Regions from separate parts of the Homo sapiens genome. Here all the other regions are linked to region 1. Evidence: promoter capture Hi-C in 16 types of primary human blood cells and fetal thymus (Javierre and others, 2016). All regions are on one chromosome and are shown on one strand. Each heading gives the region's core, a stretch centred on a gene start or on the middle of the fragment in contact. The rest is flanking DNA. Distances are from core to core; before and after follow the strand shown. Region 1 holds the start of CAMSAP3 (calmodulin regulated spectrin associated protein family member 3). Region 2 overlaps ARHGEF18 (Rho/Rac guanine nucleotide exchange factor 18). Region 3 holds the start of EVI5L (ecotropic viral integration site 5 like). Region 4 overlaps LOC124904628 (a long non-coding RNA gene).

What was found. Contacts are between HindIII fragments. The CHiCAGO score rates a contact against its expected background, and 5 or more counts as called.
Region 2: a contact is called between a fragment that was not itself captured here and the fragment with the promoter of CAMSAP3 in region 1, in 2 of 17 cell types (M1 macrophages and M2 macrophages). The highest score is 6.0, in M1 macrophages.
Region 3: a contact is called between the fragment with the promoter of EVI5L here and the fragment with the promoter of CAMSAP3 in region 1, in 1 of 17 cell types (monocytes). The highest score is 7.1, in monocytes.
Region 4: a contact is called between a fragment that was not itself captured here and the fragment with the promoter of CAMSAP3 in region 1, in 3 of 17 cell types (neutrophils, M1 macrophages and monocytes). The highest score is 5.9, in neutrophils.

The regions. Positions count from the first base shown.
Region 1 is chr19:7,594,096-7,597,818 of GRCh38, reverse strand. CAMSAP3 (calmodulin regulated spectrin associated protein family member 3) reads right to left here and starts at 1,956. Exons shown (of 17, transcript NM_020902.2): 1 at 1,669-1,956. The coding sequence starts at 1,816. RefSeq lists an enhancer at 372-977 and a silencer at 1,817-2,256. The HindIII fragment of the contact is 11,146 bases long and covers 1-3,723 here.
Region 2 is chr19:7,358,897-7,362,619 of GRCh38, reverse strand. The region is part of intron 1 of ARHGEF18 (Rho/Rac guanine nucleotide exchange factor 18); the gene reads right to left. Among named protein-coding and RNA genes, the nearest start is that of ARHGEF18, 12 kb to the right of the region's middle. The HindIII fragment of the contact is 165 bases long and covers 1,598-1,762 here.
Region 3 is chr19:7,828,192-7,831,914 of GRCh38, reverse strand. EVI5L (ecotropic viral integration site 5 like) reads right to left here and starts at 1,697. Exons shown (of 20, transcript NM_001159944.3): 1 at 1,534-1,697. RefSeq lists a silencer at 1,601-1,840. The HindIII fragment of the contact is 20,032 bases long and covers 1-3,723 here.
Region 4 is chr19:7,807,479-7,811,201 of GRCh38, reverse strand. All of the region lies in intron 1 of LOC124904628 (a long non-coding RNA gene), which reads right to left. Among named protein-coding and RNA genes, the nearest start is that of EVI5L, 21 kb to the left of the region's middle. The HindIII fragment of the contact is 5,208 bases long and covers 1-3,723 here.

The sequences.
Region 1 (3,723 bases), core at 707-3,206:
TTTGCTTTGCTGTCTTCAAAATGGGATAATTTCTACTCTGATTCCTGGCCAGGGGATAATGGATAACGTTAATATTATTCATCAAAATATACCACCGCCAATCACACCAGCAGCGAGCAACCGTTTCGCATGTATCACGCGCCCCGTGCCACGCGAAGAATTCTGTGGTCACTACAGCTTTTACGCCTCCCAGCAACCTTGCAAAGAGGTAACGGGGGGTCTCCATCACTGGAGCAGTGCCCTACACATAGCAAGTGCCCCTGCCCCACAAACATTCGCAAAACAGATAAGTCTGTGAATGAACGCCTTCTTTTATAGAAGGGGAAACAGAAGCTCAGATAATTGGGATAATTCGCATTCTGGTGCAGCTGGACTTCACATTCAATTCTGACACTCCACGTTGAGTTCTCTACAGCCTGGTAACCTTGGAAGTGAGGAGCTGGGGCTGTCCTGGCTGTCCAATGCCCAATCTCTTTCTTCCTCAAGCAAATATCTGCAGGGAGGTAGACCCCAGAGTGGGAAATGCATGCATGGAACGACGCAGACAGAGACTGTCTGGGAGAAAGAGGGACAGGCTGGGGCGGAACCAGGAGACGGACAGCTGTCACTGAGACCCACACCCAGAACAGGTTGATCTGGGAAGGCCAGGGAGAGGGGGGATGGGCTGTGCCAACACCAGTGGGCAGAACCAGTGGGAGAAAAGGATGTACCCCCACAGCTCCCCGCTGGAAAGCCCAGACCTTAATTAACCCCTGTCTTCTCTGGCCAGGCCCTGACTCCTAGCTCTGGCCTGGGGTTGTGAAGCTGCCCAAAGCCGAGACTGAGTGTTTCCAGGGCCTCTAATCCCGGGGACCCGGGATTACGGCATCCTCCCCATTAGGGTGGCTCGGGCTCTCAGGCAAGCGGGCCTGGGGGAGGGAGTGAAGGATCTGCTCTAATGGGAGAAGGCCCCGCAGCCGGGAGGAGCGGGGGGCCCACCCCAGGCGATCTTGTACTACCCATTTCCCTTCAGCTGGGCTCGCCAACCTCCCCAGTAAAATGGGGCCATAAGTCGCAGCTGCCAGGCGCTGGAGGGGGCTATGGAGGCGAAAGGGGGTTCCCAGAGCTCCCCGGTCGCCGCCCGCAGCGCGGCCAGGGCCGACGCGGGGTGTGTGTTGGGGCCTGGGGGTCGTGCGGTGGTGGAGACCGGAGCGCTCGAGACCCCCCAGCGAGGTCGGGGTCTGGGTCTCCAGGGTGTGTGGCGGGGGAAGAGACCGAGAGGAGATCCTCGCAGGGGCGTGATGTGTGTAAAAGAGAAGAAGGCGTGCAAGGGAAGGCCTTGGGGGTGCGGGAGGCGGGAACGAGAGGTCCGCACGGGGAGACCCCACCCGGCCCGCAGACCCCGCCCGGCTCACCTGGAGGCTTGGACGCCGGGGACCCCCGCGCGGAGCTGGGCCGCGGGCCCCACCCCCACCGCGCTCCCGCAGCCGGCGGGGCAAAGTCCACCGCCCGGGCCGAGCAGGAAGCTCGGAGGCCCCGGCGCGGCAGGGGCCCGAGCCCGGGGACCCCCGGCGGCCGGCGCTATTGTTCCCACGGCCCCCTGCCTTCCCGGCCCGGCGCCCCGCCCCCCCCCAGCACCTGCCGCGCCCGGCCCGCCGCCCCCGACCCCGGTCCCCCGAGCCCCGGTACCTGCGCCCCCGAACGCGGCCCGCAGCACCCACGCCAGGCTGGCCGCCGCCTTGGCCCGCGAGAAATCGTACTGGTCCAGCGACTTGATCTCGGGCACTAGAAAGGTCCTCCGCAGCGGCCCGGGCCCGGGGGGCGCCGCCTCCACCATGGCGGCGCCGGGGCTGCGGGCGCCGGGTCCGCGCTCGGACTGGGCTGGGCTGGGCTGCGCCGCGCTCGCGCCCCAGCCGGGCCCGCTGCTGCTACCGCCGCTGCCGCCGCCGCCGCCGCCGCCGCTGCTGAGCCAGGTGCGGCCGCTTGCGCTGGCGACGCTGCGTCGGGCCCGCCCCGGGGAGGAGCCCAGGTGCGCCCCGCCCCCGAACCCGGACCCGGACCCTGGCGCGCCCCTGCGCCCCGCCCGGGCCCCTCACTGCAGTGTGCACGGAGCAGCAGGGGCGGGGCGGAGGGGGGCGGCCTGGACTGCGGCGATGGTGGAGGGAGCTTGCGGAGGACTGAGTGTGTATGTGTGCGCGCGCGCGTGTGTGAGTGTGTGCGCGCGCGCCTAGCTTACTGGAAAGGATTAGGGACCCTCTGTGTGTGCCAGCCCCAGTGTCTACCCTTAGGCGTAGGAGCTCCTGCAAGTGCTTGCAATAAACGCCGGCCCTCAGGCAGAGAGTGGTTGGGTGCACCTGTTTCTGATTATGTTAGTGAAGGCACAAGAATATGAGTGTCTTCGTATCTGTGTATCTCTGAATACATTTGGGTGGTGACCAAGTGTATTGGGGGGTGTCTAGGGGTGTGTGTGTGTGGGGTATGTATCTGGGCACGTGTAAGTGTGTGTTTAATTTGTTGTGTGTACAAGGATATGTATTATATAGATGTCTGTATCCTGAGGATGGATGGAAGTGATGAGTGTGTGTCTGTTTTTTGTTTTTGTTTTTGTTTTTGTTTTTGAGACAGGGTCTCACTCACTCTGTCTCCCAGGCTGGAGTGCAGTGGCGCGATCTCGACTCACTGCAACCTCCGCCTCCCAGGCTCAAGCGATTCTCCTGCCTCAGCCTCCCGAGTAGCTGGGATTACGGGGTTGCGCCACCACTCCCGGCTAATTTTTGTATTTTTAGTAGAGTTGGGGTTTCACCATGTTAGCCAGGCTAGTCTCAAACTCCTGACCTCAGGTGATCACCCGCCTCAGCCTCCCAAAGTGCTGGGATTACAGGCGGCAGCCACCGTGCCCGGCTGTGTGTGTGTTTTTGGAGTGCTGTGAGTATGTCTATCTCTGTGCATCTGAACGTACTGGTGTGTTGTATGAGGCTGTTATTGATGCCTCTGTCAATGCAGGAGTATGGAGAGACATTGAGAGTGTGTGTATTTCAGGCCGAGAGCGGTGGCCACGAGTGTAATCCCAGCACTTTGGGAGGCCAAGGCGGGCAGATCACTTGAGGCCAGGAGTTCAAGAGTAGCCTGGCCAACATAGCAAAACCCCGTCTCTACTAAAAATAAAATTTTTAAAAATTAGCCGGGCATAATGGTGCATGCCTGTAATCCCAAGTACTCGGGAGGCTGAGGCGGGAGAATCGCTTGAACCAGGGAGGCAGAAGCTGAGATAGTGCCACTGCACTCCAGCTTGGCCAACAGAGTGAGACCCTGTCTCAAAAAAAAAAAAAAAGTGTGTATATTTCTGCAAGAGTGTGACTATTTGTGTCTATGAGTGTCCTTGCGTAGCTGTACTGGGTGTATTTGCAAGTGTCTTTGTGTATTATTCTGGTATCTGCAGTGTGTGCTGGGAGAAGGCTCTGTGTGGAGGTGAGGCTGTGTGTCTAAGTGGGTTTGTATTTGAGTATGTGAATCTGGCTATATGCACATGGATGTGTGATTGATTGATTGATTGATTTTTTGAGACGGAGTCTCGCTCTATCGCTCAGGCTGGAGTGCAGTGGTGCGATCTTGGCTCACTGCAAGCTCTGCCTCCTGGGTTCATGCCATTCTCCTGCCTCAGCCTCCCGAGTAGCTGGGACTACAGGCACCCGCCACCACGCCCGGCTGGTTTTTTGTATTTTTTTTTAAGTAGAGACCGGGTTT
Region 2 (3,723 bases), core at 431-2,930, 230 kb after region 1:
GCCAACATACGTGTCACCTCTTCCCCATCCCAAGCCTATGGCAGACATTGCTAGTCAATCATGAGTCAATTTCCTGCTTAGCCATTTGCCCCCTCAGGATTCTTCCCAACACACCAGTTCCAACAGCCATCACCAGGTGATCCAAGTTGGCTTATGTATGAAATCAATTTGTTATGCCTGCTCTAGGAAAAAGCCCTCAGTTGATCAATGATGCTAATGGTCCCGTAGACCAAATGCAAGTACCCAATGCCCACATTGTTTTTCCTCCTCCTCCTCTTCCTCCTCCTCCTCCACCTTCTTCCTTCTTCTTCCTCCTTCTCCTTCTTCCTCCTCCTCTTCTTCTCCTTCCTTCTTCCTTTCTTCTTCCTCTTCCTCTTCTTGTCTTCTTCTTCCTCTTCTTCCTCTTCTTTTCTCCTTCTTCTTCTCCTTCTTCTCCTTCTTCTCCTTCTTCTCCTTCTTCTCCTCCTTCTCCTTCTCCTTCTCCTTCTCCTTCTCCTTCTCCTTCTCCTTCTCCTTCTCCTTCTCCTTCTCCTTCTCCTTCTCCTTCTCCTTCTCCTTCTCCTTCTCCTTCTCCTTCTCCTTCTCCTTCTCCTTCTCCTTCTCCTTCTTCTTCTTCTTCTTCTTCTTCCACAGAGTCTTGCTCTGTTGCCCCCAAGCTGGAGTGCAGTGGCGTGATCTCAGCTCACCACAACCTCCGCCTCCCGAGTTCAAGCCATTCTCCTGCCTCAGCCTCCTGAGTAGCTGGGATTACAGGTGCACACCACTGCACCTGGCTAATTTTGTGTGATTAATAGAGTTGGGGTTTCACCATGTTGGCCAGGCTAGTCTAGAACTCCTGACCTCAGGTGATCTGCATGCCTCAGCCTCCCAAAGTGTAGGGATTACAGGTGTGAGCCACGGTGCCCGGCCAGTGCTTTATTTGTTTTAGGGCTGAATAATATTCAATTGCATGGAGATACCACATTTCGTGTATCCATTGATCTGTTGATGGACATTTGGGTCGTTTTCACCATTTGGTTATTTCAAATCACGCTGCCATGAACAATTGCATACAGATGTACGCAATTGCACGGATGTGTGTTTTCCATTGTCTTGGGTCGTTACCTAGGAAGGGAATTGCTGGAGTACATGCTAATCTATGCTTAGCTTTTTGAGGAACCGCTGTTATGCAGTCTCTTTTTTGAGATAGAGCCTCACTCTGTTGCCCAGGCTGGAGTGCAGTGGCGCCATCTTGGCTCACTGCAACCTCCACCTCCGGGATTTGAGTGATTCTCCTGCCTCAGCCTGTTGAGTAGCTGGGATTACACGTATGCACCACCACACCTGGCTAATTTTTTTTATTTTTAGTAGAGACGGGGGTCTTGCTACGTTGGCCAGGCTGGTCCGGAACTCCTGAGCTCAGGCAATCCCCCCGCCTTGGCCTCCCAAAGTGCTGGGATTACAGGCATGAGCCATTGCACCTGGCCTAAAACCACTGAATTGTATGCTTTAAATGGGTGAAGTATATGGTAGCTCAATAAAGCTGTTCCTAAAAAGTTTTTTGTTGGAGCCTCTTGCAGAGCTTTGGATGGGGCAGGTACACATGGGGCCTGAAGCTTCAGTTTCCATTGCTTCAAGGTAAATTTGCCCCCTGATGCCACCTGTATTCACAGATGAGTGGCTGGACAGTAACGAGCAATGCCAGGGTTTCCACCATCACTGCTTTCCAGGTTGCCCTCCCGGGCTGGTTGGAGGGACTCTGTTCAGCTGCTGTTGTTAAGCTTTGCATCTGTTCTCTTCCCCACCCAGAAGCCGAAGCAGCATCTATGACTCACAGAAACGAAACAAGCAGGCTGTGAAGGAGGAGGAAAGCCAGATGTGGGGGAGGGTCCTGGAGGTTGGTGGGAGCTTGGGAGGGGAAAGGCAGTCCCATTCCTCAGCCAAGTCCCCTTAGGGCTGGAGGAGAGCCTGCAGGGTTGGCTTGCTTCACTGGACAGGGTCCTTGTGGAGGCCTGAGGCCTCCTGTAGCCTGCAGGACCTCATGCCCTGTATCTGTGAACCCTGAAGGTCTGGGATCCAAAGATCAAAGGTGAAAGGCCAGGGTTGGCCGGGCCCAGTGGCTCACACATGTAATCCCAGCACTTTGGGAGGCCGAGGAAGGCGGATCACTTGAGGTGAGGAGTTTGAGACCAGCCTGACCAACATGGCGAAACCTAGTCTCTACTGAAAATACAAACATTAGCTGGGCATGGTGGCATGTGCTTATAATTCCAGCTACTAGGGAGGCTGACACATGGGAATCTCTTCAGCCAGGGAAGGGCAGGATGCAGTGAACTGAGATTGTGCCATTGCACTCCAGCCTGGGTGACAGAGTGAGACTCTGTCTCAAAGAAAAAAAAAAAGGAAAAGAATGAAAAAAGAAAAGAAAAGAAATGCCAGGGTTGTGTGATTGTGCATGTTTTGTTGTTGTTGTTGTTGTTGTTGTTTTGTTTCAAGAGAGTCTTGCTCTGTCACCCAGGCTGGAGTGGTTCCATCTTGGCTCACTGCAGTCTCCACCTCCTGGGTACAAGCGATTCTCCTGTCTCAGACTTCTGAGTAGCTGGGACCACCGATGTGTACCACCATGTCCAGCTAATTTTTGCATTTTTAGTTGAAATGGGGTTTCACCATGTTGGCTAGGCTAGTCTCGAACTCCTGGTCTCATATGATCCTCCCACCTCGGCCTCCCAAAGTGCTGGGATTACAGGCATGAGCCACTGTGCCTGGCTGAGTTTTGTTTTTATAGGGAAGCTTCTGACCGAGGAACAGGTTGAGCTTGACCTGATGATGAACTCAACTGTGATCCTAGTTCCCAATGACTGACTCAACTCTGATCCTAGTTTTACAGATTGAACTCCAATCTTTGTGTCACAGACTGAGCCATGATCCTGGTGTCATATACTGAGCCTTGATCCTGATATCACAGACTGAACTTCATCTGGCTGTCATTGGTTGAGCATTCATTCTTGTATCATAGAATGAACCCCCCTCCTAGTGTCATAGACTAAGCCTTTATCCTGGTGTCATATATTGATCCCTGATCCTAGTGTCATAGGCTAAGCCCTAATCCTGGTGTCATAGTCTTAGCTCTTATCCTGGTATCATAGACTGAGCCCCAATCCTGGTGTCATAGACTGAATCTTGATCTGGCATCATAGACTGAGCTCCAATCCTGATGTCATAGGCTGTGTCCTGATTCCAATATTATGAGCTAAGCCCTAATCCCAGTGTCATAGACTGAGCTCTGTCAATTACCAACCACAATTGCCCCAAACGATTGCCAATCACATTTGTCACTGATCCTCAGCTACCAGTCTCTCCCCTGTAGTCCATCTTCTGTCCTGGAGTTGGTGTGTCCTTTTGATATAACCCTCTGATGGTCACTCCCCTTCTACTGATCCCCACCCCTATAGACTCCAGTCCCCTTAGAATGACATTCAGAGCCCTCCTCAGCCTGTCCTCTTACCTCCCTGTCACACACATGCACACCCAACTCACCATTCTCCTGGTATCTCTGTGCTGTTCCTACCACTCTTCCTGCCTGGCAACTGAGGGCTCTGTCTCAGATCCTCTGCAGACAATTTTAGCCATAGGACTTTGGATTGCTCTGCCTAGCTCTTTATAGAAAAGGTTTGCTGATCCATGCTCTAGAGCATGAGGTCTGTGAGGGCAGTGACTATATCTGATCCACTTTTACATCCCCAA
Region 3 (3,723 bases), core at 448-2,947, 230 kb before region 1:
AAATGCCAAGATAGAAGGAAGCTGTTTTGTTTTGGCCAAACACACTAGTTGTGGGTGAAAGAACTCTCGGGCTGTCAGGGGCCAGCTCTGAGGAGCAACCTGGACCGCCCTGCTGGCTCTGGCATTTGAGGCCAGTAGGCGTGATGGGGTCAGGAGGCTGGGGGCAGACTTCAGGACGGAAGCCAGGAGCTGTGAATCCTCTCCCTTCCCGCCAGGGGGTGGCATAAATCAGGGGGCGGGCAGTGGTTCCTTCGGGACACTAGTGTAGGAGAGAAAGTGAGCGTCCTTCCCTTTGAAAGGGCACAGCAGGGAAGGATGGATAACTTGGCAGAGGCCTGGGGCAGGTTCCCACAGGGGTAGGTGCTGGGGGATTCTGGGGCCCTGTCACCCTCCAAGGCTCCAGTGTGGGCGCTGGTTTGGTGGAGGGGCAAGTTGGCTTCCTGGGGTGCGGCAGGCACCTCATGGTCTCTGGAATCTCTGCTTGAGCTGGGGGAGCTGTCGGGGACTCTGGGAGGGCCTGGACAGGTGGGATCTGAGGAGGGGTGCAGAAGTGTTGAGTGGGTGGGGGCAGGGGCAGATATGCCTGGGGTCTATGTTGGAGCTCTTAAGTTTTTCTGTGTGTGCTGGGGGATCTAAGTGACTGTGTGTGTGTGTGTGTGTGTGTGTGTGTGTGTGTGTGTGTGTGTGTTTGGGGTTTTCAGAAAGATGGGTGGCTCTGGATGGGGAGTGGGGTGGTTCAGAATATCCAACGGGAGGTCTTGAGCATGGGTGGATTTTTCAGGATCCAGGAGCCAGGATCCAGATGGGGCAGGATCAGTGGAGCTACCACAGTGTGCTGGGTGGACGCCGGGGAGTGGTGTTTAGGGGTGCCCTTGGGCATGTGGCAGCTGGGGTGGGAGATGGGCTAGCAGGCTGAGCTGAGGGCTGTGGGCAGGGGTAGGAAATCCGACTTACAGAGGCCAGAGAGGGGTCCTGTGGGGTCAGCATGGGGGGCGGGTAGGCCCTGAGGCTGGTCTCCTTGGGGAGAGGTGGGGGCAGTTCTGGGCCCAAGATAGGAGGACGTGAAGTGAGGGGGTGCGGGGAGGGGGTGGCAAGTGTTGTCCAGAAGGGAGGGGTCCTGAGAGATCAGGGCAGAAGGTGGACGGGGGTTCTTGGGCTTGGGGGGCGCTTCTGAGGGGCTGATCGGCGGAGTGGGGGGATGGGGAGCCCTGAGGGGGTTCCCGGAGAGGAGTCCTGAGGGTCACTGCAAAGGGTGGACGGGGGTCCTGGGCCTGCGGGGTCCTCATGGGGAGGGGACGGAGTGGGGGAGGGGGATCCTGCAGGAGCTCCTGGGGAGGGGTCCGGAGGGATCGGCAACGAGGGTGGGCAGGGGCCAGGGTCCTCCGAAGGTCCCGGGCTGGGGATGCCGAGGCTCCCAGCGCGGGTTCCGGGGCACGACGGCCCGAGTTGCGGTCCTGCCGGTTCCCCGCGGGCCGCATCACGGAGCCGCCGGCCTGAGCAGGCGCCCGGGAGGCCCGGCCCGCGCCGCCCTACCTGCGCCGAGCGCGCCGCCATCTCCGTGCCGAGCCTCGCCGCCCCGGGCTGAGCCGCCGGATCCTAGCCGCGCCGTTCGCCCCGCAGCCCCGGCCCGGCCCCCTCAGCCGCCCCCCGGGACCGCGGCCGCCGCCGGCTCCGCCGCTGCCATTTCACCCGCTGACAGGAGCCGCTGCCCCGCCCCCGAGGCCCCATCCGCCAATTCGCCGCCCCCAGGCGCCCTGGCCCCGCCCACCAGCCAGGAGTGACGGGGTGTCTGACCATTCCGTGGCCATTCCGTGAGGCGGGCCCTGGCTACGTTCAGAAGGTTGCCGCCTCTGAGGAGAGAGCGAATTGAAATGAGGGAAGCGGTGAAGGACAGGTAGTTTTGCGTATCGGAATGAGGAATCCTATTGATCAACACCTGATAAGACCAATAGCAAGGAAAGTGGGGGTGTGTCCGTGAGGAAAGGCTGCGGCCCTGAGGAACACCAGGCAGACGCGGCCAAGCGTTTGGCACTAAGCCCCGCCCAGAGCCGGGCTTTCTGCCCAATAACGAGACGCCCCGAGACGTCCATTATTATCTGCCCCTCAAACCTGGGCCCTGGCAACTGCTGGGGGCGCCATAAAGAAGATTGACACCTAGGGAACCAATGCTACTGAAGGAGGGCGGGAAAGTGACACTCTCTGACCAATGGGTATGTGAGATTGGTGGGAGCATTGGCGTCCTGGGCGGTGGGGCTTGAGGCCTGGGTTGAATGAAATGGGGGTGGGGCTAAGAGGAGGGCGTGGCCTAGGCCAGAGATGGGGCGGGGTCAAGCAAGGGAGGGGCTCGGGGGTTGGGTCTGAGAAGGGGCGTGGCCAGAAATCCTGAAGACTCACTGGGGACGTGATGGCACCGTGTCGTCTAGGAGCCCAGTTCTGTGCTGGGGACGGGGCGGTTGATATTGGGGGCGGGTCCCATAAAAGATTCAGGCCCGTCCCCTGTCTTACTCCAGGCCAGGTTAAATGTGTTCTCTAAAGCTCACAGAGCCGCGTGTTTCTCCATCAAAGCTCGGTTCGCGCCGTGATCGTGGGGAGGGATAGGCCCTCCCATTCCCCATCCTCCCAGGCTGATAGATCCTCGGGGAGTCGGGATGCAGGGCCTAGGTCGGGTCTCTTCCAGGTCCCCAGCATGGAAACTGCTTATAAACATTTGATGAATGAATGAATGAAAATGGGCCCGTGACTCTTTTAACAGAGAAGGGAGAGGTGGAGAATCCTTCAAGCTAGAGAGGAATTCGTAGGGACAGTTACTGACAGCGGGCAAGACTGACCAAAATGGACTTATTTCCTCCCCAAGATGTAGGGATGGGCCCTGGAGGGGGTGGGGCAGGGAAGGACCTTGTCATAGCAGAGAGGGTGACGTCATAAGTGTGTTTTTATTTATTTATTTTTCAGAGACAGGGTCTCGCTCTGTGTCCCAGTTTGCAGTGCAGTGATGCGAACATAGCTCAATGCAGCCTCGAACTCTTGGACTCCAATGATCCTCCCGCCTCAACCTCCCCAGTAGCTGGGACTACAGGTGCGTGCACACCATGCCCGGCTAATTTTTTTGGTAGAGGCTGGGGTCTTGGTATGTTGCTCAGGCTAGTCGGAAACTCCTGGTGCCAGGTTCTCCCACTTCAGCCTCCCAAAGTGCTGGGATTACAGGCATGAGCCACCTCGCCCAGCTAGATGTCCTAAGTTCAGAATGGGGAAGGGAAGGCTGGACCCAGGGAGGGGCACGTCAGGACTTCCTAAGGTCTGAGAGCTCAACCTTCTCTGTAGTAGGAGACTCTGTGTGGCCTTGCAAGCAGTGACTGACATCCACGTATGGTCCCGGCCTCTGTCCAGCTCTCTCTGCCTCTCCCTCCCTCTTCCTGTCTATTTTGCATCTGCCAACGTTCTGGAACTGTTAATAAACCTCCCCAGGGTCCGGGCGCGGTGGCTCACGCCTGTAATCCCAGCACTTTGGGAGGCCGAGGCGGGCAGATCACGAGGTCAAGAGATCCAGACCATCCTGGCCAACATGGTGAAACCCCGTCTCTACTAAAAATACAAAAATTAGCTGGGCATGGAGGCGGGTGCCTGTAGTCCCAGCTACTTGGGAGGCTGAGGCAGCAGAATCGCTTGAACCTGGAGGCGGAGGTTAAAATGAGCTGAGATCGCTCCACTCTACTCCAGCCTGGC
Region 4 (3,723 bases), core at 859-3,358, 210 kb before region 1:
CCTAGTCATAAGATTACCCCCTCTTCCTGATAGCATCCAACCTAGAATCCTCCCCTAAAGAACTTAACACAAGCCCCAATCATATAATAAGTCATTTATTACACTCTCCTACTGAGATACCCCATGGTTATGAAACTAGCCCCATCATCCCATAGAACTTATATTAATAGTTTCTTTCAATAAACATAGAATTGACTTGAGAAAGTTACATTTGTCTTATCTGAGTTCCTTTCCCAGGAAACGAACCATCAGGACTCCCAGATAGTATCAAGGAGCTGAAACTTAGCAGATCACACCTGGACAATGAGATGTCAGACCCCTCACCCATCATGATTGCCCAATTGACGATCTGCTTCCTGTTGACCAACTTCTCTTCCTTACCCCTACCTAACTGTTGTTTTCTCACATATTGTCACATTTCTTCCCTGCTATATAAACCCCTAATTTTTAATTAACTAATTTATTTTTGAGATGGAGTTTCGCTCTTGTTGCCCAGGCTGGAGTGTAATGGCACGACATCAGCTCATCGCAACCTCTGCCTCCCAGGTTCAAGCAATTCTCCTGCCTCAGCCTCCTGAGTAGTTGGGATTACAGGCATGTGCCACCACCCCTAGGCTAATTTTGTATTCTTAGTAGAGATGGGGTTTCTCCATGTTGGTCAGGCTGGTCTCGAACTCCCGACCTCAGGTGATCCGCCTGCCTCGGCCTCTCAAAGTGCTGGGATTACAGGCGTAAGTCACCACGTCCAGCCTAAACTCCTAATTTCAATCAGTCAGGGAGATAGATCTGAGACTGATCTCCCATCTCCTTGGTTGGCACCTAATTAAAGCCTTCTTCATGGGCAATACTAGTGTCTCAGTGATTGGCTTTCTGTGTGGCAAGCAGCCGACTGAACTGGTGTTTCAGTAACAGCTACCCGTGGTGTGTATTCTCCTTCGCTGTGACAAGTAATACATTGAAATTTTTTCAACTGGCTGGGCATGGTGGCTCATGCCTGTAATTCCAGCACTTTGGGAGGCCGAGGCAGGCATATCACTTGAGGTCAGGAGTTCAAGACCAGCCTGGCCAACATGGTGAAACGCTGTTTTTACTAAAAATACAAAAACTAGCCGGGCATGGTGGCACGCATCTGTAGTCCCAGCTACTCAGGAGGCTGAGGCAGGAGAATTGCTTGAACCTGGCAGGTGGAGGTTGCAGTGAGCCGGATTGCACCACTGCACTCCAGCCTGGGCAACAGAGCGAGACTCCGTCTCAAAGAAAAAGGAAAAGAGAGGGGAGGGGAGAGGATGGGAGGGGAGGGGAGGGGAGGCAAAGACATTTGTTCAACCACATGTGTGATTCTGGTGTTTTTTGACTGGGTGGGTGAGGGAGACACTAACAGTCTTCACAATAACACTACAAGAAAAGCACAGTTATTATCCTGCTTTACAGAGGAGAAAATTGAGACACAGAGAGGTTAACAATTGACCATGGTCATACAGCTTGTAAGTGGTAGGGCTGGGATTCGAACCTAGGCAAGTTGACACAAGTCCATGCTTAATCAGTACACTAAGCAGACCCAAATTTGAGGACAAGAGGAATTTATATGGGAGGCAGTTGCGGAAAATGCCAGTGGTGGGAAGGGGTTCTTTATTTCTTCATGTGGACTTTTTTTTTTTTTGAGACAGGGTCTCACTTTGTCGCCCAGACTGGAGGGCAGTGGTGTGATCTCAGCTCACGTCAACGGGGTTCAAGTGATTCTCCTACCTCAGCCTCCCAAGTAGCTGGGACTACAGGCACACGACACCACACCCAGCTAATTTTGTATTTTTTGGTAGAGACGGGGTTTCATCATGTTTAGCCAGGCTGGTCTCAAGCTCCTGACCTCAGGTGGGCCTTGGCCTCTCAAAGTGCTGGGATTACAGGCAAGAGTCATCACGCCTGGCCTTTCATATGGATTTGAGTTACTGTCTAGTGTTCTTTCATTTCATCCTGAAGGATTCCCTTCATTTCCTCTATTGTAGTAAAATACACATAACATAAACTTTACCATTTAAAGCATACCATTTAAAGTATACAATTCAGTGACATTTAGTACATTTACAATGTTGTGCAACCATCCCTACTACCTAGTTCCAGAACATTCTCATCTCCCCAAAAGGACACCCCATAGTTATTTATTTATTTATTTATTTATTTATTTATTTATTTATTTATTTTGAGACGGAGTCTCACTCTGTCGCCCAGGCTGGAGGGCAGTGGTGCAATCTCGGCTCACTGCAAGCTCCGCCTCCCGGGTTCATGCCATTCTCCTGCCTCAGCCTCCTGAGTAGCTGGGACTACAGGTGCCTGCCACCATGCCTGGCTAATTTTTTGTATTTTTGGTAGAGACGGGGTTTCACCGTGTTAGCCAGGAAGGTCTTGATCTCCTGACCTCATGATCCACCCGCCTCGGCCTCCCAAAGTGCTGGGATTACAGGCATGAGCCACTGCGCCCGGCCTATTTATTTATTTTTGTTTTTGTTGAGAGAGGGTCTTCTTCTGTCACCCAGGGTGACTGCAGTGGCACAATCATGGTTGAGTGCAGCCTCAGCCTCCTGGGCTCAAGCAATCTTCCCACCTCTGCCTCCTGAGTAGCTGGGGACGTGGGCATGTGCCACCGTGGTCAGCTAATTTTCAAATGTTTTGTAGAGATGGGGCCTTGCTATGTTGCCTAGGCTGGTCTCAGACTCCTGGCCTCAAGTAATCTTCCTCCCCTGGCCTCCCAAGGTACTGGGATTACAGACGTGAGCCACCATGCCCAGCCCCCCATACTTACTAAGCAGTCACTCCACATTCCTGCCTTCCTGCAGCCTTGGAAAACCCTAATCTGTTTTGGCCTCCCAAAGTGCTGGGATTACAGACGTGAGCCACTGTGCCCGGCTAACAAATTGTTTTCTGCCCATGCATTTATGTATTGTATGTGACGCATTTGTGCTAGAATAGCAGAGTTGCAGCAGAGAGCCCTCGAGGCCCAAAAATATTTACTATTTGGCCCTTTTCAAATGTTTGCCAACCTTTGGTCTAGAAGGTTACATTCTGGAGCAAACAGATCATAGACAGATAAAGAAAGGCAGATGCTAAAATCAGCCGGGCGTGGTGGCAGGCACCTGTAGCCCCAGCTACTCGGGAGGCTGAGGCAGGAGAATGGTGTGAACCCGGGAGGTGGAGGTTGCAGTGAGCCGAGATCGCGCTACTGCACTCCACTGGGCGATAGAGCAAGACTCCGTCTCAAAAAAAAAAAAAAAAAAAAAGAAAGAAAGAAAAGCAGATCCTGAATCTGGTCCCCTCCACTCACCCGCGCTTCCCAGTTATGAAAGGCAACACAATCTCCACATCTTCTTTCTTGGGTTTTGGGTTGGTTTGAGTTGGGGCCACGAAGGGAAGTGAAAATGATGTGGTCCTCATTGCTTTCACAGTTTCAAACCCAACTCCAGTGTTTATCAGCTGATGGGCTGTGGGCAGGTGACTCATCTCTGAGCCACTATGCTCATAGGTAAAATGAGAATGAGGGCGGCTGTGTTACCGGATTCTTTGAGGTCATATCCAAAAAACACATAGCACAAAATAAATGCTCATGAGATGCAGAGGCCAGGTGTGGTGGCTTATGCCTGTGATCCCAGCACTTTGTTTTTCTGTTTGTTTTGTTTTGAGACAGAGTCTTGCTCTGTCACCCAGGCTGGGTGCAGTGGCAAGATCTCGGCT